4 separate regions of the Homo sapiens genome follow, and all the other regions are linked to region 2. The links are contacts of gene promoters, found by promoter capture Hi-C in human tissues and cell types (Jung and others, 2019). All regions are on one chromosome and are shown on one strand. Each heading gives the region's core, a stretch centred on a gene start or on the middle of the fragment in contact. The rest is flanking DNA. Distances are from core to core; before and after follow the strand shown.

The links. The method cuts DNA at HindIII sites, captures the fragments that hold promoters and counts their contacts. A contact is called where the count stands out against the background at its distance.
Region 1: a fragment that was not itself captured here is called in contact with the fragment with the promoter of C21orf58 in region 2 in 5 of the 25 tissues and cell types used here (H1 embryonic stem cells, dorsolateral prefrontal cortex, hippocampus and 2 more).
Region 3: a fragment that was not itself captured here is called in contact with the fragment with the promoter of C21orf58 in region 2 in 3 of the 25 tissues and cell types used here (dorsolateral prefrontal cortex, mesenchymal stem cells and mesendoderm cells).
Region 4: a fragment that was not itself captured here is called in contact with the fragment with the promoter of C21orf58 in region 2 in 9 of the 25 tissues and cell types used here (IMR-90 fibroblasts, aorta, dorsolateral prefrontal cortex and 6 more).

Annotation. Positions count from the first base shown.
Region 1 is chr21:46,612,721-46,619,579 of GRCh38, reverse strand. No RefSeq gene overlaps it. Among named protein-coding and RNA genes, the nearest start is that of S100B, 11 kb to the right of the region's middle. The HindIII fragment of the contact is 3,662 bases long and covers 1-3,081 here.
Region 2 is chr21:46,318,596-46,325,338 of GRCh38, reverse strand. C21orf58 (chromosome 21 open reading frame 58) reads left to right here and starts at 1,469. Exons shown (of 8, transcript NM_058180.5): 1 at 1,469-2,700. The coding sequence starts at 2,601. PCNT (pericentrin) reads right to left here and starts at 1,183. Exons shown (of 47, transcript NM_006031.6): 1 at 1,057-1,183. The coding sequence starts at 1,110. RefSeq lists silencers at 391-850, 1,121-1,450, 3,932-4,194 and enhancers at 1,801-1,940, 5,800-6,634, 6,635-6,743. The HindIII fragment of the contact is 24,092 bases long and covers 1-4,286 here.
Region 3 is chr21:46,579,289-46,585,897 of GRCh38, reverse strand. It overlaps a transcript of DIP2A not described here. Among named protein-coding and RNA genes, the nearest start is that of S100B, 22 kb to the left of the region's middle. The HindIII fragment of the contact is 8,435 bases long and covers 779-6,609 here.
Region 4 is chr21:46,593,014-46,599,483 of GRCh38, reverse strand. S100B (S100 calcium binding protein B) reads left to right here. Exons shown (of 3, transcript NM_006272.3): 3 at 1-880. The coding sequence ends at 121. Among named protein-coding and RNA genes, the nearest start is that of S100B, 8.8 kb to the left of the region's middle. The HindIII fragment of the contact is 6,650 bases long and covers 1-4,769 here.

The DNA.
Region 1 (6,859 bases), core at 1-2,500, 290 kb before region 2:
GAAAGAGAGAAAGGAACAGAAGCAATATGTGAAGCAATAATGACTGAGAATTTCCCCAAGATTAATGTGAGACACCAAATCACAGCTCCAGGAAGCTCAGAGAACACAAATAGGATAAATGCCCTTCCCCCAAAACTAGGCATATCACATTCAAGCTTCACAAAATCATAGTTAAAGGAAAAATCTCAAAAGAAACCAGAGAAAATAAACACGTTACCATAGAGAAGCAAGATAAAAATTACATCTAACTTCTCCTGAAAAACTATGCAAGCGAGAAGAAGATGGAATGAAATAGAGTCATATATCACTTAATGATGGGGATACATACTGAGAAATGTTTCATTAGGCAATTTTGTCCTTACGCAAACATCATACAGTGCAGTTACACAAACCTAGCTGGTACAGCCTGCTATATACCTAGGCTGTATGATACAGCCTGTTGCTTCTAGGTTACAAACTTGTCCAATATGTTACTACTGGATACCGTAGGCAATGAAACACAATAGTAAGTATTTTTATGTCTAAACATAGAAACAGTACAGTAAAAATATGATATAAAAGATTTTTAATGATATACCCATATAAGGCATTTACGATGAACAGAGTTTGCAGAACTGGAAGTTGTTCTGGGTGAGTTAGTGCTTGAGTGGTGAGTGAGTGTGAATGCCCAGGACATTACTGTACTCTACTGCAGACTTATAAGCATTTCTGTACTCTACTGTAGGCTTGCAAGCATTACTGTACTCTACTGCAGACTTATAAGCACCACTGTACTCTACTGTAGGCTTATAAGCACTGTACACTTAAGCTGTGCTAAATTTATTTATTTATTTATTTTAGAGACAAGGTCTCGCTGCATTGCCCAGGCTGTTCTTGAACTCCAGGCTGTTCTGAACTCAAGCAATCTTCCTGCCTCGGCCTCCCAAGGTGCTAGGATTAGAAGCTTAAGCCTCTGCAGCCAGTCATACATTAAATTTATTTTAAAATATTTAAAATATCCTTGCCGGGCATGGTGGTTTAAGTCTGTAATCTCAGCACTTTGGGAGGCCGAGGTGGGTGGATCACTTGAGGTCAGGAGTTCGAGACCAGACTGGCCAACATGGTCAAACCCCGTCTCTACTAAAAATACAAAAATTAGCCAGGTTTGGTTGCGCATGCTTGTAATCCCAGCTGCTTGGGAGGCTGAGGCAGGAGAATCGCTTGAATTTGGGAGGTGGAGGTTGTAGTGAGCCAAGATTGCACCACTGCACTCCAGCCTGGGCAACTGAGCAAGACTCTGTCACAAAAACAAAAACAAAACAAAATTATTCTTTCTTCAATAATAAATTAAACTTAGCTTACCATAACTTATTTACTTTATAAACTTTTTTTCTCATTGACTCATTTGTAATAACACTTAGCTTAAAATACAAACACATCGTATAGCTATACAAAAATATTTTCTTTCTTTATATCTTTAATCTATAAGCTTGTTTCCATTTTTAACAATTTTTAAATTTTTTACTTTTTAAACTCTTTTTTTAACTGAAACACAAACACATTAGCCTAAGCCTACACAGGTCAGAACCATCAATATCACTGTCTTCCACCTCTACATCACATCTTTTCCCCCTGGAAGGTCTTCAAGGACAATGAGACATATGGAGCTGTCATTCTCTATGATAACGGCACCTTGTTCTAGAATATGTCCCAAAGGACCTGCTCGAGGCTATTTTACTGGTAACTAACTGTTAACTAACTTTACATAGATAGATAGATAGATGATAGATAGATAGATAGATAGATAGATAGATAGATAGATAGATAGAAAGAGTACCATCTAAAATAATAAAATGTATTGTATAGTAAATACATAAACCAGTAAGATGGTCATTTATGATCATTGTCAAGTATTACGTATCGTACATAATTTGATGTACTATACTTTTATGTGACTGGTAGCACAGTAGGTTTGTTTATACCACTATAACCACAGACACATGAGTAATGCATTGCACTACAATGTTTTGATGGCTACAACATCACTAGGCAATAGAAATTTTTCAGTTCCATTATAATCTATGAGGCTACCATCGCATATGCAATCTGCCATTGACCAAAATGTTGTTACATGACACATGGTTATATTTAAAGTGTTGTAAAAATAAACCCTCTGATATGGTTTGGCTGTGTTCCCACCCATATCTCATCTTGTATTGTAATCCCCATGTGTCATGGGAAGGACCTGGTGGGAAGTAATTAAATCATAGGGGGCAGTTACCTCCACGCTGCTGTTCTCAAGATAGTGAGTGAGTTCTCATGAGATCTGAAGGTTTTATAAGGGGCTTTTTCCTCTTTTGTTCGGCACTTCTCCTTGCTGCCTCCATGTGAAGAAGGATGTGTTTGCTTCCCCTTCTGCCATGGTTGTAAGTTTCCTGAGGCCTCCCCAGCCATGCTAAACTGTGAGTCAATTAAACCTCTTTCCTTTATAAATTACCCAGTCTCAGGTATGTCTTTATTAGCAGTGTAAGAACAGACTAATACACCCACCAACCTAGAATTCTGCGGTCTGCAAAACTGTCCTTCAAAAGTAAAGGAGAAATAGACTTTCTAAGACAAACAAACATTGTTGCTAATAAATCTGAAGAAATGTTAAAAGAAGTTCTCCAGAGAAAGGAAAAATGATATTTTAGAAACTCAGGTCTAAGCTAACATCATGATGACAGGATCAAATCCACACATATTAATACTAACCTTGAATGTAAATGGGCTAAATCCCCACTTAAAGGACTCAGAGTGGCAAGCTCAATAAAGAACCAAGACCCAATAGTATGCTGTCATCAAGAAACCCATCTCACATGCAGTGACACCCACTGGCTCAAAATAAAGGGATGGGTAAAAATCTACCAAGCAAATGGAAAACTGAAAAAAGTAGGAGTTGCAATCCTAATTTCAGGCAAAAAAGATTTTAAACCAACAAAACTCAAAAAAGACAAAGAAGGGCATACAAAATGCTAAAGGGTTCAGTTCAACAGGAAGACCTAACTATCCTAAATATATATATATATATATATATATACACACACACACACACACATATCTATACCAAGCACAGGAGCACCCAGATTCATAAAGCAAGTTCTTAGAGCACTTCAAAGAGACTTAACACTCCCACACAATAATAGTGGGAGACTTCAACACCCTGCTGACAGTACTAGACAGATCATTGAGGCAGAAAATTACCAAAGATATTCAGGACCTAAACTCAGCACTGGAGTAAATGGACCTGATAGACATCTACAGAACTCTCCACCCTAAAGCAACAGAATAGACATTCTTGTCATCACCACATGCACATACTCTAAAATCAACCACATAATAAGACATAAAACACTCCTCAGCAAGTGCAAAAGAACTAAAATCATAACAACCACTCTCTTGGACCACAGCACAAGAAAATTGCTCAAGGCCAGGTGGGGTGGCTTACGCCTATAATCTCAACACTTTGGGAAGCTGAGGCGGATGGATCACTTTAGGTCAAAAGTTTAAGACCAGCCTGTCCAACATGGTGAAACCCTGTCTCTACTAAAAATACAAAAATGAGCCAGGTATGGTGGCACATGCCTGTAATCCCAGCTACTCAGGAGGCTGAGGTGGGAAGATTGCTTGAACCCAGGAGGTGGAGGTTGCAGTGAGCCGAGATTGCCTCTCTGCACTCCAGCCTGGGTGATGGACTAAAACTCCATCTCAAAAAAAGAAAAAGAAAGAAAGAAAATTGCTCAAAACCATGCAATTATATGAAAATTGAATAACCTGCTCCTGAATGACCTTTGGGTAAATAAAGAAATTAAGGCAGAAATCAAGAAGTTCTTTGAAACTAATAAAAACAAAGGTACAACATACTAGACTCTCTTGGACACAGCTAAGGCAGTGTTAAGAGGGAAATTTTTAGCAATAAATGTCCACATCAAAAAGTTAGAATGCTTGCAATCAAACAACCTAACACCGCAACTAAAAGAACTAGAGAACCAAGAGCAAATCAACCCCAAAACTAGCAGAAGACAAGATATAACCAAAATCAGAGCTGAACTGAAGGAGACTGAGACACAAAAAACCATCCAAAAGATCAACAAATCCAGGGGTTGGTTTTTTAAAAAAATTAATAAAATAGACCACTAGCTAGACTAATAAAGAAGAAGAGAGAGAAGATCCAAATAAACACAATCAGAAATGACAAAGGGGATATTACCACTAACCCTACAGAAGTACAAATAACCATCAGAGAATATTATGAACACCTCTATGCAAACTAGAAAATACGGAAGAAATGGATACATTCCTGGATATATACACCCTCCCAAGACTGAACCAGAAATAAATTGATTCCCTGAACAGATCAATAACAAGCTCTGAAATTGAATCAGGAATAAATAGGCTACCAACCAAAAAAAGTCCAGGACCAGATGGATTCACAGCTGTATTCTACCAGAAGTATAAAGAAGAGCTAGTACCATTCCTGCTGAACCTATTCCAAAAAATTGAGAAGGGGGGACTCCTCCCTAACTCATTCTATGAGGCCAGTATCATCATAATACCAAAATCTGGCAGAGACACAACAAGAAAAAAAAAACTTTAGGCCAAAATCCTTGATGAACATTGATGCAAAAATCCTCAACAAAATACTAGCAAACTGAATCCAGCAGCACATCAAAAAGCTTATCCACCATGATCAAGGAGGCTTTATCCCTGGGATGCAAGGTTAGATCAACACAGGCAAATCAATAAATGTGATTTATCAAACAAACAGAACTAAAGACAAAAACCACATGATCATCTCAATAGATGCTGAAATGCCTTTTGATAAAATTCAACACCATTTCATGTTAAAAACTCTCAATAAACTAGATATTGAAGGAACATACCTCAAAATAATACAAGCCATCTATGACAAACCCACAGCCAACATCATACTAAATGGGCAAAAGCTGGAAGCACTCCCCTCGAAAACTGGCACAAGACAAGGATGCCCTTTCTCACCACTCCTATTCAAAATAGTATTGGAAGTCCTGGCCACAGCAATCAGGCAAAAGAAAGAAATAAAGGGCATCTAAATAGAAAGAGAGGAAGTCAGACTAACCCTGTTTGTGAACGACAATCAACATACAGAAATATTTACATGTAAAATCCAAAACTATAAAAACCCTGGAAGACAACCTAGGTAATACCATTAAGGACATAGGAATGGGCAAATATTTCGTGATAAAGACACCAAAAGCAATTGCAACAAAAGCAAAAACTGACAAATGTGATCTATTTAATTAAACGAAAGAGCTTCTACACAGCACACACACACACACACAAAAACTATCAACAAAGTAAACAGAATGGGAGAAAATTTTCGCAAACCACGCCTCTGACAAAGATTTGATATCCAGCATCTATAAGGAACTTAAACAAATCTACACACACACACAAACCCAATCCCATTAAAAAGTGGGTAAAGGACATGAACAGACCCTTTTCAAAAGAAGACATACATGTGGCCAAAAAGCATGTGAAAAACAACTCAACATCACTGATGACTGTCAGAGAAATGCAAATCAAAACCACAGTGAGATACCACCTCCCAGCAGTCAGAATGGCTACTATTAAAAGGTCAAAAAATAGCCAGGCACGGTGGCTCACACCTGTAATCCCAGCACTTTGGGAGGCCGAGGTGGGCGGATCACCTGAGTTAGGAGATCAAGACCAGCCTGGTCAACATGGTGAAACCCCATCTCTATTAAACAAATACAAAAATTAGCCGGGCGTGGTGGCATGTGCCTGTAATCCCAGCTACTCAGGAGGCTGAGGCAGGAGAATTGCTTGAACCCAAGAGGTGGAGGTTGCAGTGAGCAAAAATTGAGTCACTGCACTCCAGCCTGGGCTGCACCAAAATTGAGTCACTGCACTCCAGCCAGAACGAGACTCCGTCTCAAAAAACAAAACAAAACAAAAGTAAAAAAATAACAGGTGCTGCCAAGGTTACGGAGAAAAAGGAATGCTTGTACACCGTTGGCGGGAATGTAAATTAGTTCAACCATTGTGGAAAACAGTGTGGTGATTCCTTAAAGACATAAAAACAGAATTACCACTCAACCCAGCAATCCTGTTACTGGGTCTATACCCAAACGAATATAAATCATTCTATCATAATGACACATGCATGTGGATGTTCATTACAGCACTATTCACGGTAGCAAAGGCATGGAGTCAACCTAAATGCCCGTCAGTGGTAGACTCGGTAAAGAAAATGTGGTACATATACACCACGAAATATTATGCAAGCATAAAAAAGAACAAGAACATGTCCTTTGCAGGAATATAGGCAAAAACTATCGTAAGCAAACTAATGCAGGAACAGAAAACCAAATACCACATATTCTCACTTATAAGTGGGAGCTAAATGATGAGAACACATGGACACATAGAGGGGAAAAACAGACACTGGGGCTTACTGGAGGGTGGAAGGTGAGAGGAGGGAGAGAATCAGGAAAATAATGAATGGGTACTAGGCTTAATACCTGGATGACAAAATAATCTGTACAACAAACCTCCATGACACAAGTTTACTTATATAATAAACCCACACATATACCCCTGAACTTAAACATTTTTAAAAAAGAAACTCAGGTCTATATGAAGAAAGGAAGAGCACCAGAGAATGAATAGTGATGGTAAATCTCATTTTTGTTATTATAAGGTTCTTGCACTATCCAAGAAGTGATAATAGTGTAATTTGAAAGTGTACTTGGATTAGCTGTAAACATACATTAAAAACTCTAAGGCAACGCTTAAAAATATTTTTTAAGAAGTATTAATTGATATGCTAAGAAAGAAG
Region 2 (6,743 bases), core at 220-2,719:
TCCCCTTCCCCTCCTGCCCGCCTCAGCCCTTCCCCGGCCTAGCCCCGCGTCCCCTGTCCGCCGTGCCCGGGAGCCCCGCTCTTCCCCAGCACCCCAGCCAGAACATCCTGGGGGGGAGCGGCGCGCACCTCGCAGAGGCCGGCCTGCTCCCGCGGTTCCGCCTCGCGCTTTCGGGACTCCCTTTCTCCTGCCCCCGAGTCATGGGCTCTGCGCGCTTTATTCCCACGAAACCTAGGACAGTGGCCATCAAACCGAGCGCTTTTTCACGGAGAAACCCGGGGCGGGAGAAAGACGGGAGCGCGTCCCTTGAAGGCGCCCGGCGCCAGCGCCGCGTGGGTTCCCGGCAGCGTACGCCAGGCCCGGACGGGCAGGACGCGAGCCCAAGGGCGCGGGAAGAAGACGGCGGCCGGGAGCGCCGCGGGGGCCTTTCACACAGTAAGGACTGCAACGCCGCGAGAAACGCGCGGGGAAAGCATCTCCGACGGACGAGGCGAAGGCGCACCCTGGGGAGGCGCTGCAGGCCACCCGCGCCACGCCCCCGGCCCCGGCCGCGCAGGAAACTGGCCCTAGACCAAGCAGCCACCCGAATACCGGCCGCCCGCCCCAGGCCACCCGGTCCCGGAGGACGCGGGAGCCACTGGAAGATCCAGCCTGGGGTCCAGCGCCTGCCGCGCCCCACCCCCTCCGTGCAGCCACGCCACGCCCCTGTAGCCCCGCCCTGCAGCCACACCCCGCCCCGGCGTGCACCGCGCCCAGCCCGCGCCCCACCCCCCCCGACGCAGGCGCAGCCCCGCCCCGGCCCGCCCGAGAGGCGCCGCGCGTCCCGGCCGCTGATTGGCTGTGGCCGCGGCGGGGGCGGGACCTGGCGGAGAGCGGCGGATTCAAGATGGCGGCGGCCAGGAGGCGGCTTCCAGCGGAGCCGGCGGGAAAAAGCGAGACCTCCGCGGCGGCTTCCGCCGGACCGCGTCCTCTCCTGGCAGGGGGCGGTGGCGGGCACCGGAGCCGCCCTTAGGACTTCACGCCAGAGCAGCTAGAGAAGAAGCCCCTAATGTTTACCTTCGTCCTCCCGGCCTCCACCTTTCTGCGCCGCTGCTCTTGCTCAACTTCCATCTCCCTCAGACTCCGCGCGGGCCGCCCGGCGGTGACGGGGCTGACACAGAGCAGCCTTCGCTCTATTTACACTCCCTCCCCCGCGCTTGGGCTCGCCCTCCCCCCGCGACAACTGTCACGCAGCCGCGGCCCCGCCCCCGACACGCGCCGCCAATCAGGGGGCTGCGTTTCCGGTCTCGCGCACGCGCGCTCTGGGCGGTGCAGCCTGGGCGGAGCCCCGCCCTTTACGCTCGCCGGCCACAGATTGGTGCGCTCACGTACCCGCCTCCTACGGCAGGACCAGTAAGCGGAAAGCGGAGGCCTGGCGCCCGCTGTGATTGGCCGATTTTAAAATCCCCTGCCAGGCTGGCCGAGCGGCAAAAAGTTCGCGCTGCTGGTCCCGCGCGGGCGGCCCCTGGGCTTTGTGTCCACCAGGACAGCGGGCCGGGCTCCCTGCAGGCGCGGGCGGCGCCGAACGGTGCTCAGCAACCACCCGGACAGGGCCAGGCCGTTTTCTCCCGCTCAGGCATTAGTCGTTGGCTGTGGGCCGCCGCGGGAAGTTGAGGCCTACCACGGAGGAGGCTGCTGAGGTGGATCTCAGGGGATCCGCAAGGGCTCCCTCACCCTTGCCGGGACCCTGGGAACCCGAAACAAAATCCTACGCCACCAGCCCGCCGAATGCGCCCCCTCGGCCGGGGGTCCTGGGTCTTCAGAGAAGAACTCGGCCGAATGCGGTCAGAAAGCCCGCGAACCGCCTGGACCTGCAGGCCCCGCCGCTTGGAGCTCCCGCCTTTCCCGACCGAGCCCGTGTCTGCTCGTGTGTCTCACTGATGTCTTAGGTCTCAAAAAAAAAAGAAAAGAAAAGGTTTTTAGTAGACAGAAGAGAAATGGGGCCGTGGGTTCGTGGTCCCAGGGGGAAACTGACGTCGCATGAGGTCGTCGTCCCTCAGCTTGAGCTCAGCGGAACATAAGCTTGCAGAGGTGGAAACCACGGAAGGTTTGGGTGTCTTGGAGCTCTCTGGACACCGAAGCCCGGACACAGTCCCGGGGTCCGCACCGCCTGTGACCTGTGGCGGGACCGCCGGGGTGGGCGTTTTCTCAGCTGGCGCGCGCGTAGGTGGAACTTGGGAAACTAACTGGAGCGAAGTGGCAAAAAACCAAGACAGGGCCGGTGACCTCGCGCAGGCCGTCCTTAACTGTGGAGTATTCCTTCAGCTAACCCCTTTATTTCATGTGTCCAAGTCTGGTTTCTGGGTTTCTTTGTAGTCCTCCGGGCCTGTTCGTGCGCCTTCACTTGCAAAAGGTTCGTCGTGGAGGGCCGTGTGCTTGTTTGCAGCAGTAACGATGCCCTTCCCGAGCGTGCTGGAGTGGCTCCTCGCTGACGCAAGCTCACCTTGCAGCCTCCTCAGCAACTGCAACTTAAACGCGCCCTCAGGAAGCCCTGGAATCTCGCTCAGAATTTTTTTTCTTTTTTTGAGACAGTCTCGCTGCGACGCCCAGGCTATAGCGCAATGGCGCGATCTCGGCTCCCTGCAACCTCCCTCAGGAAGCCGTGGAAGCTCGACCGCCAGAAACTTCCTTCTCCTGACTCAGGCCACAGTCTTCTGTGTGGTGAGCGGGGTGTCCAGCGGTCTCCTGGTTCCCAGACTCGGAATTGGGTGGTTTGAGCAAACTCTGGGCAGTGGGCTCATTAGAGCAGGGGCCAGGCAGGCAACACAGCCAAGCGAGCAGGGGCTGCACCCACAGGATCACACTTTCCAGGAACAGAGACCCAGACCGCGCCTGAATCTCACAACTGTTACGTGTTACAATACATTTACAACTGTGGGACTGAGGGGATGTGCCCAGGTTTGCCTAGACTGTGTTCCTCAGAACCCCAGAGTCGTTTCTGTGGACATCCTAGAGAGGTTCTGCTAATGTTGGACTTGGGTCTTATTTCAGTTCTTTTTTCTTTTCTTTTTTATAGGCAGGGTCTCAGTCTGTCACACAGGCTAGAGTGCAGTGGTGAGACCACCGCTCATTGCAGCCTCAACTTCCCCGGGCTCAGGTGATTCTCCATGTCAGCCTCCTGAGCAGCTGGAATTACAGGCACACCACCATGCCCAGCTAATTTTTGTATTTTTAGTAGACACAGGGTCTCACTGTGTTGCCCAGGCTGGTCTTGAACTCCTGGGCTCAAGTGATCCACCTGCCTTGGCCTCTCAAAGTGCTGGAGTTACAGGCATGAGCAACCTCGCCCAGCCTCAATTCATTTTAAACTATTAAAAAGCTGTCAAGGCCAGGCAACCACTGCACTCCAACCTGGGTGACAGACTGAGACCCTAACTCAAAAAAAAAAAAAAAAAAAAGCTGCCCAGATAAATTTTGTAGATACTCACCCTCAAGGAGGGAAACGTAACTCCCCTCTCCTTAAGTGTAGACCACACATAGCCACTTCCTCCCAAAGAGTGCAATAAAGAAAAGGAGGGAAAGAGCCACTTTATTGTGGAGAAAACTGGCAGACTCCACCTCAGCCAAGTGACGCAGGTCAGCCTCACAGTTATAGTCGAGGTGACAGTGTGTGTCCCTGATGTGATGGGGTGACAGTGGCACTTCACCCCTAGATGCTTCCTTTCTGTAACCTGCAGTCCCAGTCTAACCAGGAGATAATAGACACATTTTAATTGAGGGACATTCTTCAAAATATCTGCCCAGTACTCTTCGAAACTGTCAAGGTCATCAAAAACGAGGAAAGTCTGAGAAGGAGCCTAAAGACACATAACTCAATGTAATGGGGTGTTCTGATGGATACCACATTAGGGACATGAGGCAAACCTAAGGAAACTGTCAAAGTGTGGACTTCAGTTACTTGTGTCTCAATATTGGTTCATTAATCATAACAAATGGGCCAGGTGCACTGGCTTTCACTCAAAAATTAGCTGGGCATGATGGCACGTACCTGTAGTCCCAGCTACTCGAGAGGCTGAGGCAGAAGAATCGCTTGAAACTGGGAAGCAGAGGTTGCAGTGAGCCAAGATTGCACCATTGCACTCTAGCCTGGGCGTCGCAGCGAGACTCTGTCTCAAAAAAAATATATATATATATAACATATGTAGCACACTAAGGTAAGATGTTAATAAGAGGGGAAGCCACACATGTGGTATGTGGGATCTCCATGTACTATCTTCTCAATTACTCTAAATCTAAAACTGTTCTTAAAAACCCTATTTAAAAAAAAAGTCTGACAAATCCATGCCCTCTGGAGCATGTTATGTATACTACTAGAGATCCCGAGGAGGCAATTCTTAGTGCTTCCCATTCACTTGGCAGTCACAGCTGTGGGCACACAGGCTCAAGTCTCTCCTTAAGTCAGTCAGTATTACAAACCATACATAATAGTATACTTGACCACTGCATAAATGTTATAAACATTCCACATCAAGAGAAAGAGGAGAGGAAAAAAAGTTAACCAGTTCAACGAAAAGGAGAATCTGGCAAGGAAGCATCTCTGATGTGGGCAGAGCCTGCAGCAGCAGATGTGGAGGGCTTCTCACAAGTGACAGCAAGACTGTCTGTAAAACGGCCACTTTGACCTGGTGGTGTTCTGCTCTTTTCATGGCCATAGAGTACTCTGGTAAGGACTGATAGTAAGAGTGTCTTGTTTATGTCTTTATCTGGGTGGGTGCAGTATCTACTGATGAGGAAACATCTGGTCCCTGTTGGCCTGATACCCTTTTTTTTTTTTTTTTTTTTTTTTTGAGGTGGAGTTACACTCTTGTTGCCCAGGATGGAGTGCAGTAGTGGTGCCACCTTGGCTCACTGCAACTTCCGCCTGCCTGGCCCTATCTTATAATTTAAAAGGCATCAGGGGCCAGGTGCTATGGCTCACACCTCTAATCCTAGCACTTTGGGAGGCCAAGACGGCAGATCACTTGAGGTCAGGAGTTCGAGACCAGTCTGGCCAACATGGTGAAACCCCATCTCTACCAAAAATACAAAGATTAACTGGGCGTGGTGGCGTGCACCTGTACTCCCAGCTACTCGGGAGGCTGAGGCAGGAGAATCACTTGAACCCGGGAGGCGGAGGTTGCAGTGAGCTGAGATGGCTCCACCTCTGCACTCCAGCCTGGGCAACGAGCAAAACTCCATCTCAAAAAAAAATACATAAGATGGAGTCCTTTTCTCAGATGAGGTCACTTATATCAAGGGTGCTCTATACAGTTGCTTAACTAAATTAACCTGGTTTTTGTTCTGTGCACACTCAGAGCTGTTTAAATGTCTCCCAAGACTGTCACTGTTAATGACTGTGGACAAGAGCCAGGTTCTTTTATTATCTTGTTTATTTATTTTTTTATTTTTTTTATTTTTTTTCCAGACGGAGGTTTTGCTCTTGTTGCCCAGGCTGGAGTGCTGTGGCGCAATCTTGGGTCACTGCAAACTCTGCCTTCCGATTTCAAGCAATTCTCCTGCCTCAGCCTCCCGAGTAGCTGGGATTACAGGCGCCTACCACGACGCCTGGCTAATTTTTTGTATTTTTAGTAGAGACGGGGTTTCACCATGTTGGCCAGGTTGTCTCGACCTCCTGACCTCGTGATCTGCCTGCCTCAGCCTCCCTAAGTGCTGGGATTACAGGCATGAGCCACCGCACCTGGCCCTTTTTTATTATTTTTTATAGAGATGGGGTCTTGTTGTGTTGTGCCGGCTGGTCTCCAACTCGTGGACTCAAGTGATCCTTCTGCCTTGGCCTCCCAAAGCACTGAGATTACAGGCGTGAGCCAACGCCCAATGGCACTGGGATCTTAAACATGGGGCCAGAGTCTGCTCATGTCCAGCAGCACCAGCGAGGACCCCTGACTGCCATCTGGGAATGTGTGGCACCAGGCAGGTCATGTGACCCTAGCCCACACCCTCCACAGATCTGGAGGGAGGGTAAGGCCTGGTTTCATGCTGACTTCATTTCTGGTTGGATGGCCTCCAGGGTAAGGTGAGTTGAACTCTACGTCAGGAGTAATCCAGCCCCTCCAGGGCCAGCAGGAGTAAGGTGCGCCCCTCCAAGGATCTCCATGAGCTGCCTCTGTGAGCCTGACCTCCTACGGGCTAGCCAGCCTTCACCCAATCACTCACTGGTCCAGCTTCAGGGTCCCTACATGGATGTGGGTTGGAAGACAGGACAGGCACACAACCATAGATACTGATGGACATGGGCCATTTACAGAACTGAGGGCAAGAGAGCAATTTTGGCCACTGAGGCAAGTTCCTGGGTTAGCTGCACCGAGGAGGGTGCTGACCTCTGCCCCTCGGGTCCACAGGTCTGGGCCCCTGCTGCTGACATCCCCCACATGTCAGTCTGCCTGCTAGTGGGATTGACTAACTCATCAACGTGGAGTTTAATGCCCAACCAAGTGCAGACCACGCTCCTGTTTTGCGTCACCCTCTGCGAAGCTTCCTGCAAACTTGACTCCCTGCCCAGTGCCCCCAGCCCCAAGGTGGGACATATCCCCTGGGCACCCCCTCTGGTCCTGCTAAAGCCCAGCCCCTCTGCAGGTCACAACCCCTCCTCTGTCCTACCCCTTCTGCTGCCTGCAATTTCCTGAACTCCTTGGTAGGCAGTCTCCTCACCCTGTCCTCCCAGTGTCTCCCCACCCTGTCTTCCCTGCTTGCTCTGAGGGTCCCTA
Region 3 (6,609 bases), core at 3,747-6,246, 260 kb before region 2:
CACAGAGTCCTGTGATGTTAACTGTCTGTGGGTCTCTCAGCCATGTATATCAGAATCTGTTCCAGTGGAGGTGGCAGGGGGGTGAAATGGACTCTGTGAGGGCTCTTAGCTTTGGCGGTTTAATGCACTATTTTGTGCTGGTTGGCCTCCTGCCAAGAGGTGGCACTTTCCAGACAGCATCAGCTGTGGTAGTATGGGGAGGAACAGGCAGTGGGTGGGGCCCTAGAACTCCCAAGAGTATATGCCCTTTGTCTTCAGTTACCAGGGTGGGTAGGGAAGGACTATTGGGTGGGGGCAGGGCTAGGCATATCTGAGCTCAAGCTCTCCTCGGGCGGGTCTTGCTGTGGCTGAGTATTTAGGTTCTCTCCTGGGTCCTGCAGGAGCAATCGCTTCCTTCAAGGGGTCTGTGGGTCCTCTCAGGTTTCTTGATTTGTTCTTGCAGTTGTTCTGGAGGAAAAATTCATGATGCAAGTCTCCACATGCTGCTCTGAGTCAGAGCTGCAATCTAGTCCTACCTCCCATCCGCCATGATCCCTCTCAATCCAACATTCAGGCTTTAACCTGTCTTTGATTTGAAGGTCGCGTTACACCAGGGACCTGCCTCTACCTGCCTCCTGCTGCTATAAAGATAATCATGTGGGCTTTTTTATTCTATTGATATGGCATATATTAATTTTCAAATATTAAACCAATCTTGGATTCCTGGAATAAATTCCACTTGGTCTTAGTGTCCAATTCTTTTTATATGTTGCTGGATTTCATTTTAGTATTTTGTTGGATTTGTCTGTTCATATTCATAAGAGATACTGGTCTGTAGTTTTCTTGTGATGTTTGGTTTTGGTATCAGATAATACTGGCTTCATAAACTGAGTGTTCCCTCTTCAATTTTTAAGAATATTTTGTGAGGCTGGGCGCAGTGGCTCATGCCTGTAATCCCAGCACTTTGGGAGGCCGAGGCGGGTGGATCATGAGGTCAGGAGATCGAGACCATCCTGGCTAACACAGTGAAACCCCATCTCTACTAAAAATACAAAAAATTAGCTGGGCGTGGTGGTGCATGCCTGTAGTCCCTGTTAGGAGGCTGAGGCAGGAGAATGGTGTGAACCCGGGAGGTGGAGCTTGCAGTGAGCCAAGATTGTGCCACTGCACTCCATCCTGGGTGACAGAGCGAGACTCCATCTCAAGAAAAGAAAAGAAAAAAAAAAAAAAATATATATATATATATATATATATATATATATATATATATAGTGAAGATTTGATATTAATTTTTCTTCAAATATTTTTCAAATATTTAGTAAAATTTAGTGGTGAAGCCGTCTGGGTGGGTATGGTGTTTTACTGCTTATTCAGTATTTTTGCTTGTTATAAGTCTGTTCAGATTGCCTGATCTTAAGTGGGGTTTGGTAGTTTGTGTCTTTCTAGGAATGTATCCATTTCATCTAAGTTACCTAATGTATTGGCATGCGATTGTTCATACTACTTCTTTATCATCCTTTGTTATTTCTGTAAGATCTGTAGTAATGCCCTTTTTTATTTCTGATTCTAGTAATTTGAGTCTTCTCTTTTTTCTTAGCCTAGCTACAGTTTTGTTAATTTTTAAAAATCTTTTCAGTTTTTGGTTTTATTGTTTTTCTCTTGTGCTTTTCAATATCTGTTTCATTAATTTCCATTCTAATATTTATCTTTTCTTTCTTCTGCTTTCTTTAGGTTTAGTTTACTCTTCTTTTTCCAGGATAAAACTAGGTTAATGATTTGAAATTTTTCTTCTTTCTTATTATACGCATGTGCAGCTAGACATTTAACACTGCTTCAGCTTCATTCCATAAATTTTGATATGTTGTGTCTTCATTTTCATTTATGTCAGGGTATTTTTTTATTTCCCTTTTGTTTTCCTCTGATCCATTGGTTATTTAGTAGAGTGCTGCTCAATTTCCATATGCTTGGGAGTTTTCCAAATTTTTTCCTGTTGATTTCTGTCTTATTCCAATTTGTCCTGCTATAACAAAATACTTAAGACTGGGTATTTAATAATGAACAGAAATTTATTTAGCACAGCTCTGGAGGCTGGGAAATCGAAGAATGAGGGGGCAGCATCTGGCAGGACCCTTGTGCTGCATCATCCCATGGTGGGAGGTGGAAAGGCAAGAGAGAGCAAGGGGAGGCCAGACCTGCCCTTTTATAACAGTACTCCTCCTGTGATAATGAACACATTTCTGTGATAATGGCATTAACCCATTAATGAGCACATAACCCTCATGACCCAAACACCTCTTAAAGTTCCCACCTCCCGACACCTTCAAAATGGGAATTAACTTTTAGTATGAGTTTTGGAGTGAACAAAAATTCAAACTATATCAATTCCTAATTTCATTCTATTGTGTAGGAGAACATAATTTATGTATTATATCCTTTTAAATTTAGAGAGGTTTGCTTTATAGCCTAGCATATGGTGGTGTGTTCTAGAGAATGTTCTATGTGCAGTTGAGAAGAATGTATACTTTCTTGTTGTGTGGAGTGTTTTATAGATGTTTGTTAGGTCTAGTTGTTTATAATGTTATATCTTTTATTTCCTAGTTGATTTTCTGCTTGGTTATTCATTATAGAAAGTGAGACATTGAAGTCTCCAACTCTTATTTCTGTCAGTTGTGTGCTTTGTGTATTGTAGTGTTTTGTTGTTGGGTGCATACATATTTGTAATTGTTAGCTTTTCCTGATAGATTGACCCTTCTATAGTTATAAAATGTCTCTAGGAATTTTTTGTTATGTCTATTTTGTATGAGATTAGTATAGCCACTCCAGCTTTCTTGTGGCTGCTGTTTGAATGATGTACCTTTTCTCATCCTTTTACTGTCAGTCTATTTGTATCTTTGAATAAAAGGTGTATCTCCTGTGGACAGCATATAGTTGGGTCTTATTTTTTGTTTTTGTTTGTTTGCTTGTTTTTACACAGGTTTTCTGACAATCTCTGCCTTTTTAATAAACTGTTTAATTCATTCATGTTAAGGAAAAATGCATTTATAGTCTTACCATTATATAATTATCTTTACCTTTACTGGTTCTCTTTGCTTTTTCTGTGGATCCAAGTTACCATTTGGCATATTCACTTGGTTGTTAAAAAAATTACCAGCAAAGTGGAAAGATGGCCTACTAGAAGCAGCTGCCATTGGTGGCTCCCACTGAGAAGAATGAAAATGGTGAGTGAATCCTGCACCTTCAGCTGAGGTACCCAGGTTCTCTCATTGAGACTGACTAGGTGGTTGGCACAACCCATGGAGAGTCGGGAAAAGCAGGGTGGAGCGATGGACCACTCAGGAGCACCATGGGGCAAGAGGAGCTCCCATCCCCAGCCAAGGGAGGCAGTGACTGATTGTGCTACCTGCCTGGAAAACCATGTTTTTTCCACAGATCTGTGCAACTCACAGATCAGGAAATCCCCTCATGAGCCCAAACCACCAGAGCCTTGGGTCCCAAGTACAGAGCTGTCCAGATGCTCAGGTTGCAGCTAGTGGCAGCTGGCTAGAGACTGCCTAAGACAACTGAGTACCTAGGGGGAGGGGCGGCCACCATCACTGCAGCTCCAGTCTGCCGTTTTCCTCTGCTGGTGCGGGGAAGACTGGGTAGTTTGAACCAGGAGGAATTTCCCACAGCACAGCACAGTGGCTGTGGCAGATCATGGCTAGACTGCTGCTTTAGGTGGGACCCAGATCCATTCCCCGTCAATGGGCAGGGCCTCCCTGTGGGAATTTCAGCAACTCCAGCCAGAGGTTTACAAACAGAACTCTGATCTCCCTGGAATGGAGTCCTTAGGGGGATGGGCAGCTGTGATCTCCACAACTCAGTAGACATAATCTTTCCTGCCTGCTGGTTCTGAAGAGGCTGGGCAGTTTGGACAAAGAGGAGTCCCTCCAGTGCAGTGCACCCACTCCACCAAGGGGCAGCCAGACTGCTTCTTTAAGCAGGCCTCGGATCCCAAGCCTCCTGACTGGGTGAGATCCCCCAACATGGGTTGTCAGGAATCTTATACGGGAGCGTTCCCACCAGCATCAGGTTGGTGTCCCTCTGAGATTGAGCTCCCAGAGGAAGGATCAGGCAGCCATCTTTGGTGTTCTACAGCCTCCACTGGTGACACTTCCAGGTGCAGGAGGGATCCAGGTGAATAGGGTCTGGAGTAGACCCCCAGCAAACTGCAGCAACCCTACAGAAGAGGGGCCTAGCTGTTAAAAGAAAGAAAGCAACAACAACATCAACAAAAAAAGACCCCACAAAACCCCATCCAAAGGTCAGCAGCCTCAAAGATCAAAGGTAGACAAGCTCACAAAGATGAGAAAAAAATCAATGCAAAAACGCTGAAAACTCAAAAAGCCAGAGTGCCTCTTCTCCTTCGAATGACTGAAACACCTCTCCAGCAAGGGCACAGAACTGGACAGAGGCTGAGATGGATGAACTGACAGAAGTAGGCTTCAGAATGTGGGTAATAACGAACTCCATTGAGCTAAAGGAGTTATGTTCTAACCCAGTGCAAAGGAGCTAAGAACCATGATAAAACATTACAAGAGCTGTTAACCAGAATAACCAGTTTACAGAGGAACATAAATGATCTGATGGAGCTGAAAAACACAACTTGAGAACTTCACAATGCAACCACAAATATCAATAGCCAAATAGACCAAGTGGAACAAAGAATCTCAGAGCTTGAAGACTATCTTGCTTAAATAAGACAGGCAGACAAGATTAAAGAAAAAAGAATGAAAAGGAATGAACAAAACTTCTGAGATCTATGAGATTATGTAAAAAGACTGAACCTACAACTGATTGGGGTACCTGGAAGAGATGGGGAGAATGGCACCAAGTTGGAAAGCATACTTCAGGATATCATCCAGGAGAACTTACCCAAACCAGCAAGACAGGCCAACATTCAAATTCAGGAAATCCAGAGAACCCCAGTAAAATACTCCATGAGAAGATCAGCCCCAAGACACATAATCATCAGATTCCTCAAGGTCAAAATGAAGGAAAAAATGTTAAGGGCAGCCAGAGAGAAAGGCCAGGACACCTACAAAGGGAAGTCCATCAGACTAACAACAGAATTCTCAGTGGAAACCCTACAAACCAGAAGAGATTGGAGGCCATATTCAACATTCTTAAAGAAAAGAATTTCCAACCCAGAATTTTATATATGGTCAAATTAAGATTCATAAATGAAGGAGAAATAAAATCCTTTTCAGACAAGCAAATGCTGAGGAATTCATCACTACCAGGCCTGCCTTGCAGGAGCTCCTGAAGATAGCATGAAATATGGAAAGGAAAAACTATTACCAGCCTGTACAAAAAGACACTGAAGTACACAGACCAGTGACACTGTGAAGCAACTACATTAATAAGTCTGCAAAATAACCAGCTAGCATTATGATGACAGGATCAAATTCACACATAACCATACTAACTTTAAATGTAAATGAACTAAATGTCCCAATTAAAAGACACAGAATGGCAAGCTGGATAAACAGTTAAGACCCATCAGTGTGCTGTATTCAAGAAACCCCTCTCACATGCAAAGACACATGAGGCTCAAAATAAAGAAGTGGAGGAAAATTTACCAAGCAAATGGAAAACAGAAAAAAACAAGGGTTGCAATACTAGTTTCTGACAAAACAAATCTTCAACCAACAAAGATTAAAAAAAAGAAGGGCATTACACAATGGTAAAAGGTTCAATTCAACAAGAAGAGCTAACTGTCCTAAATATATACGCAGCCAATACAGGAGCACCCAGATTTATAAAACAAGTTTTTAGAGACCTACAAAGAGACTTAGACTCTCACACAATAATAGCGGGAGACTTTAACACCCCACTGTCAATATTAGTTAGATCATCAAGAGAGAAAATTAACAAAGATATTCAGAACTTGAACTCAGCTCTGGATTAAGTAGACCTGATAGATATCTACAGAACTTTCCACTCAAAAGCAACAGAATATACATTCTTCTTGGCACCACATGGCACTTACTCTAAAACTGATCACATAATTGGAAGTAAAACCCTCCTCAGCAAATTCAAAAGAACTGAAATTATAACAGTCTTTCAGACCACAGCAGAATCAAAATGGAACTCAAGATTAAGAAGCTCACTCAAAACCACACAACTACATGGAAACTGAACAACCTCCTCCTGAATGACTCCTGGGTAAACAATAAAATTAAGGCACAAATCAAGAACTTATTTGAAACTAATGAGAACAAAGAGACAATATACCAGAATCTCTGGGATGCAGCTAAAGCAGCATTAAGAGGAAAATTTATAGCACTAAATGCCCACTTCAAAAAGCTAGGAGGATCTCCAATTGACATCCTAACATCACAACTAAAAGAACTAGAGAACCAAGAGCAAACAAACCCCAAAGCTAGCAGAAGACAAGAAATAACCAAGATCAGAGCAGAACTGAAGGAAACAGAGACGTGAAAAACCCTTCAAAAAAAATCAACGAATCCAGGAGCTGGCTTTTTGAAAAAAATTAATAAAATAGATAGACTGCTAGCTAGACAAAGAAAAGTGAAAAGAATCAAATGGACACAATGAAAATGATAAAGAGAATATCACCACTGACCC
Region 4 (6,470 bases), core at 195-2,694, 270 kb before region 2:
TGTGGACAAAGTCATGGAAACACTGGACAATGATGGAGACGGCGAATGTGACTTCCAGGAATTCATGGCCTTTGTTGCCATGGTTACTACTGCCTGCCACGAGTTCTTTGAACATGAGTGAGATTAGAAAGCAGCCAAACCTTTCCTGTAACAGAGACGGTCATGCAAGAAAGCAGACAGCAAGGGCTTGCAGCCTAGTAGGAGCTGAGCTTTCCAGCCGTGTTGTAGCTAATTAGGAAGCTTGATTTGCTTTGTGATTGAAAAATTGAAAACCTCTTTCCAAAGGCTGTTTTAACGGCCTGCATCATTCTTTCTGCTATATTAGGCCTGTGTGTAAGCTGACTGGCCCCAGGGACTCTTGTTAACAGTAACTTAGGAGTCAGGTCTCAGTGATAAAGCGTGCACCGTGCAGCCCGCCATGGCCGTGTAGACCCTAACCCGGAGGGAACCCTGACTACAGAAATTACCCCGGGGCACCCTTAAAACTTCCACTACCTTTAAAAAACAAAGCCTTATCCAGCATTATTTGAAAACACTGCTGTTCTTTAAATGCGTTCCTCATCCATGCAGATAACAGCTGGTTGGCCGGTGTGGCCCTGCAAGGGCGTGGTGGCTTCGGCCTGCTTCCCGGGATGCGCCTGATCACCAGGTGAACGCTCAGCGCTGGCAGCGCTCCTGGAAAAAGCAACTCCATCAGAACTCGCAATCCGAGCCAGCTCTGGGGGCTCCAGCGTGGCCTCCGTGACCCATGCGATTCAAGTCGCGGCTGCAGGATCCTTGCCTCCAACGTGCCTCCAGCACATGCGGCTTCCGAGGGCACTACCGGGGGCTCTGAGCCACCGCGAGGGCCTGCGTTCAATAAAAAGAGCGCAGCTTGGGAGGCCGAGGCAGGTGGATCACAAGGTCAGGAGTTGGAGACCAGCCTGACCAACATGGTGAAACCCCGTCTCTACCAAAAATACAAAAAGTAGCCTGGCGTGGTGGCGCGTGCCTATATTCCCAGCTACTTGGGAGGCTGAGGCAGGAGAATCGCTTGAACCCGGGAGGTGGAGGTTGCAGTGAGCCGAAATCGCGCCACTGCACTCCAGCCTGGGCGACAGAGCAAGACTCCTTCTCAAAAAAAAAAAAAGCGCAGCAACAGCGATCCAGCGCCATCAAAAGGCAACGCAAGCAAAAAACGCGGCTTCCCTTCTGCCCCCGCTAGGGGGAGGCTTCCCCGGGGGCGTCCAGCCACTCCACAGGGGACTTCCGGCCTGTTGGGTCACATGTTCTTCCCTAAGCCAATCACCAGGAAGGGGAGCTGCCAATGGTCCCGGGCAGTCACGTGCCTTTCCACAATGCATGCTGGGCCACCAGCCCCATTCCCGGTGTTCACTGCGCTCCCCGTGGTCCTTGGCCTCCATCTCAGAAAGCTCACGTTCCTCAGGGTCCCTCTGTGCCTTCTGAACAGTAGCGGGTAAAACAGGAAGTCCTGCCTGTCCCAGGCAGTGTGGGAGGCCCGGAGGCTCGCAGGGCCCGAGGCTGGGTGGGGCAGAGGTAGGAACCACAGCTGTGATGGCCGAGAGATGGGTTGGTGAGAGGGGCCTGGGAGAGGCCGGAGGGGACCCAGCGAGGCCACTTCACATCTAGCCACCTGGGGAGTCCCCAGGGCCCTGTGCTCACTTCTCGCTCAGCTCTCGCCTTCTGGAAATTCGTGGTTACTTTTGGCCAAAGGGCGATGTTTTCATTTCGCACCGGGCCCTGCAAAGCTGGTCCTGGTGCATGCTCTGGGCTGGCGGGCAGGAGACCAAGCTTGGGAGGCCCAGGGTGCGACCTTAAGTTGGGGGGCGGGAGGGGCGCTGCTGCCGGGGGGCAGCTCTGGGCTGCCCTTGGCTCGGGTGCCCGCCTCCCACCTGCATTCCTCCCCAGAGGATGCTCTGCCGCCTCGGCCGGAAGTTGAATCGGCCCTTCCAGAGCCTCTTTTGCCCACACTGATCCAAGAATCCTAAAGTGACTAAGTCCCCAGAAGCCTACTCTGCTTCCAAACCAGATAGGGAGAACATTGGTCCTCCAAGGAGCTTGGCTCCAGCACCATCCCTCAGGGATTCCCAGGGCAGCTTCTGAGCACACGGGGGCTCCTCCACCATCCAAAGGGGGTCTGGGGGGACTTATCCAATCAACTGCCGTTAGTTCCAGGCTGTAAATGCCAACCGTCCTCTCCTGGCAATCCCTAGCTGAGTGTGGCCCGCCCTCACCCAGAGGCACCTTCCAGTTCCATGAGTGGGTGGTGGTAGTCGCCACAGCTTGGTGGCCAGCACAGGCCTGGCCTACCCCAAAGGCTGCCTCCAGCATCCCCAGGTGGACAGGGGATGGGCCCGGGCAAGGGGGTGGGGGAAACCCGCCCCCAGCTTTGACCAGGAACACATGGAGTTCGCTCAGGCCTGGAGAGCAGGACCAGGTGTGAAAAGTCTGTTTTCATGAACCTGTTGCCCAGGCTGCCATTTCCATGGCCAGTTCAGCCACAGAAATTTTCTGTGCTCCATCAATTTCTCCGTTTGATCCACAAGATTCTGGGCCACAGCCACTTCGCAAATCTGGCCCTGCCAGCAGTGTTGGTCTCTCAGGGTGGAGACCCTGGGGCCAAGCTGAGGACCCCATTTGTTGACTTGCAGTGAGAAGGTGCTGTTGAGAAGTTGGGCTGCAGGAACCCACCATCTCTGGACGCTGCGGACCATCCTCTACAGGGGCTGCTGTCCCTGCCAGAAGTACAAGCAACACAATTGCCAGACTTTCCTGCCACCAAAAGGAGGAATCATCATCTAATAATTGGATTGCGGGGGGTAAGGCCTTGGGCCCCCAGGCAGTATCTGGACATACCCCACCTGTACCCACCAGCAGGGACAGAGACAGCAGGAAGGCTATTGGGCTCTCAAGCCCTGGACTATGTGCCCTCCTGACCCCATGCCCCTGCCTGGGGAAAGGGAGCAGTGAGGACGGAAGTGGAGAGTTGGTGATCCTGGGCTCCCCTGGCCCTCTGTCAAGCTCTGGCTCTCTCTTGTCTACTGTTCCAGATCCCCACCTCTGCAGGGCCCCAGGCCTGTTCAGCCAGACCCTGCTCCTCTTGCAACCAACAAGGGAATCAAATTTCCCCCAGGCTGGCTGGGGCCCTACTTGGGTATCTCCACTATGGGCAGTTTGTCTCCACAGCATGACACCCTGTGAGCCCATGGGCCCATTACTGTTCCCTGCAGCTCTGCCCTGTGAGGCCCCATCCTGGTCTCCAAGGCAAAATGGGGGCCCTTGAACCCACATGCCCCCAGCCAAGACCCTGGAGAGAGTTTGGAAACTTCGTAGGAAGTTGTGGGAGACACCTTGGTTTGTTTGCTTTTGTTTTGGGGTTCTTAAATTTAGGGATTCCACCCTTATCTTGTGCAGACACAAATCAGATTTTTGTAATTGCAGATAGATGGAAGTGTTTGGGCATCAGAGGAAGGTTCCACTGGCCCTTCATCCAGTGGGACCTTCTACACACAGCTATTACGTTCTGCTCGCAATGGAGACACCCAAGTAGGTTCCACTAGCCCTGTCCCACAAGAGCCCAGCTATTGCCTGGCAGTATTTCTTTACCAAGAACTGGGCTGCCTTGGGGACCAGGTGGGTGAGCACAAGGGATGCCTGGCCTCTCTGTCCTGAGACCCCCCTTAATTATGACCCTTACAGCCATGTCCACCAGCAACCTGGCAGGCAAGACAATGGCACAACCTCCTTTCACTGCATTTAGGGAGAAAAGGGCTGGCCTCTCTCTGAAGGAGTGCAGAAAATACACATTATTCAAGCAAGTTAGCATGAGGCAAGCCTAGAGCTTTTACACAGGGCTGGATGTTGAGCAGAGAGCTGAGGATGAGGTTGGCATTCTTCTCAGGAAAATAGCCCAAAGCCCCCAGGATCTAAACCTTGCAGGAAGGAGGCCAGACTTGGCTGGGCTAGAAGGAGCTTTTCTTATGTCTTCTTACCCCAGCACCCCTAATTTAAAATACAGATCCCTGAGGTGCGTCTCAGGTGTTCAGGAGGCCACTCCTGAACTTTTCCTCTTCTGTGAGGGGGTGGGGGACACTGCAGAGGGCATATTGGGTCCCATGGCCCCCTACAGCTCACTGCACAAAACTCTGCTGGGATCTTGCTACATATCCCAAGTACCAGGCCCCCCAGGTCTGAAGTGGGACCATGACTCCCTGGGGTTTTTAGCTGTGAGACTGATCAAACAAGAATTCAGGTGATTTTTTTCCTCAGGGAAGTTAATAACACCAGATCAGCAAGACAGCACTGTCTGCCTAGATTATACCTCTAGAGGAATTGTGACCATCCTCTGGGTGTACCAGCCCCCTCACTCAAGAGTTGACTGTGCAAGGCAGAGAGTGGAAAAGGCCTCAGCTTCTCTAATACCCAAGGATTCCTGAGCAGGGACATCACTGCCTTTGCCCAGGCTTACAGTAGCCAGGCCCCTCTGGACTGCAGTCTCCTCATTCAAGAAAGTAGGAGTGTTGGGTGGTGTGCAGATAGTGCACTAAAGTGCACCCCACCCTTTCCTACTGGTCTTCACATCTTGTGAAATCCCCAGCCCCTGGGTGTTCCTGATCTCAGTTGTGAGGAAGGATCCATTAAGTATCCATTGAGTATGTTAACTGTGGGTTTTTGTAGTTGCCCTTTATCAGGTAAATTTCCCTTATATTCTTAGGGTTTTGGATTTTTTTCAAAAGCTTTTTCTGTGTTTACCGAGGTTGATGCAGGATTTTTGTTGTTGTTGCTGCTTTGCCAGCTGGAAGCTTCTTTAGCCAGCAGGACCTCTGTTCAGTTATTCCCATCACCCCACTCTGGCCCATGGCTCCCAGGCTGGCCTGGCCCCACCAACACTCCCATTGCATGGGCCAGCTGGCATCAGGGGAGTAAAGGAGGGCTACAGTGTTACAGCTCCTTTTTGCACCTGCTGTTCAGCGGGTCCCAGGTTCTTGTCCCGCGTCCAAGAAGAATGAGGTTATGCAGACAACCAAAGAGTGAGCAGGGCGGAGAATTTTATCGAGTGACAAAACAGCTCTCAGCAGAGAGGGGGACACGAGTTGGGTGCACTACCCTTACCCAAAATCAGGTAGTCCTCCCTGTGCCTGAAGGTGGGCAGTCCCTGCAAGTGTGGCTGAGTCCGGGGCCTTTTTTTTTTTTTGGATGGAGTCTCGCTCTGTCGCCCAGGCTGGAGTGCAGTGGTGCGATCTCAGCTCACTGCAAGCTCCGCCTCGCGGGTTCATGTTATTCTCCTGCCTCAGCCTCCCCAGCAGCTGGGACTACAGGCGCATGCTGCCACGCCTGGCTAATTTTTGTATTTTTAGTAGAGACGGGGTTTCACCGTGTTAGCCAGGATGGTCTCAATCTCCTGACCTTGTGATCTGCCCACCTCGGCCTCCCAAAGTGCTGGGATTACAGGCATGAGCCACCGCACCTGGCCAAGTCTGGGGCTTTTATGGGCTCAGAATGGGGGAGTGTGTGGTGATTGGTTTGTGAGTATGCAAAAAAGGCTAAAACAAAGGCACCACTCAAAGATGGAAACAACAATGTAAAAATGTAAAAAAAAACAATTAGGGAAGGGTAGGTATATGTAAAATAGGTGAAGGGTGGGGGTCAATCAGAGGAAAGCACATCAAATGGGAAGAGAGGTTCTCAATCCGGTCCATGGATTTATCTGAGATTTGGAGCTTGGCATTCAGGTTTTTTTTTCCTTTTCTGTAGCAATTTTTAAATTTTATTTTATTTGCATAGGTTATTGGGAAACAGGTGGTGTTTGGTTACACTAATAAGTTCTTTGGTGGTGATTTGCGAGATTTTGGTGTACCCATCACCCGAGCAATATACACTGCACCCTATTTATAGTATTTTATCCCTCACTCCCTTCCCACCCTTTCCCCAAGTCCTTGTATTAGTCCATTTTCACACTTCTGATAAAGACATACCTGAGACTGGGCAACATACAAAGGAAAGAGGTTTAATGGAGAATTCACAGTTCCACGTGGCTGGGGAAGCCTCACAATCATGGCAGAAGGCAAGAAGGAGCAAGTCACATCTTATGTGGATGGCAGCAGGCAACGACAGAGTGAGAGCTTGTGCAGGAAAACTCTCCCTTATACTAACCATCAGATTTTGTGAGACTTACTATTATGAGAACAACACAGGAAAGACCTGCCCCCATGATGCAGTTACTGCCCACCAAGTCCCTCCCACAACACATGGGAATACAAGATGAGATTTGGGTGGGGACACAGGCAGACCATATCATTCCACCCCTGGCCCCTCCCAAATCTCATGTCCTCACATTTCAAAACCAATCATGCCTTCCCAACAGTCCCCCAAAGTCTTACTTCAGCATTAACTCAAAAGCCCACAGTCCAAAGTCTCATCTGAGACAAGGCAAGTCCCTTCTGCCTATAAGCCTGCAAAATCAAAAGCAA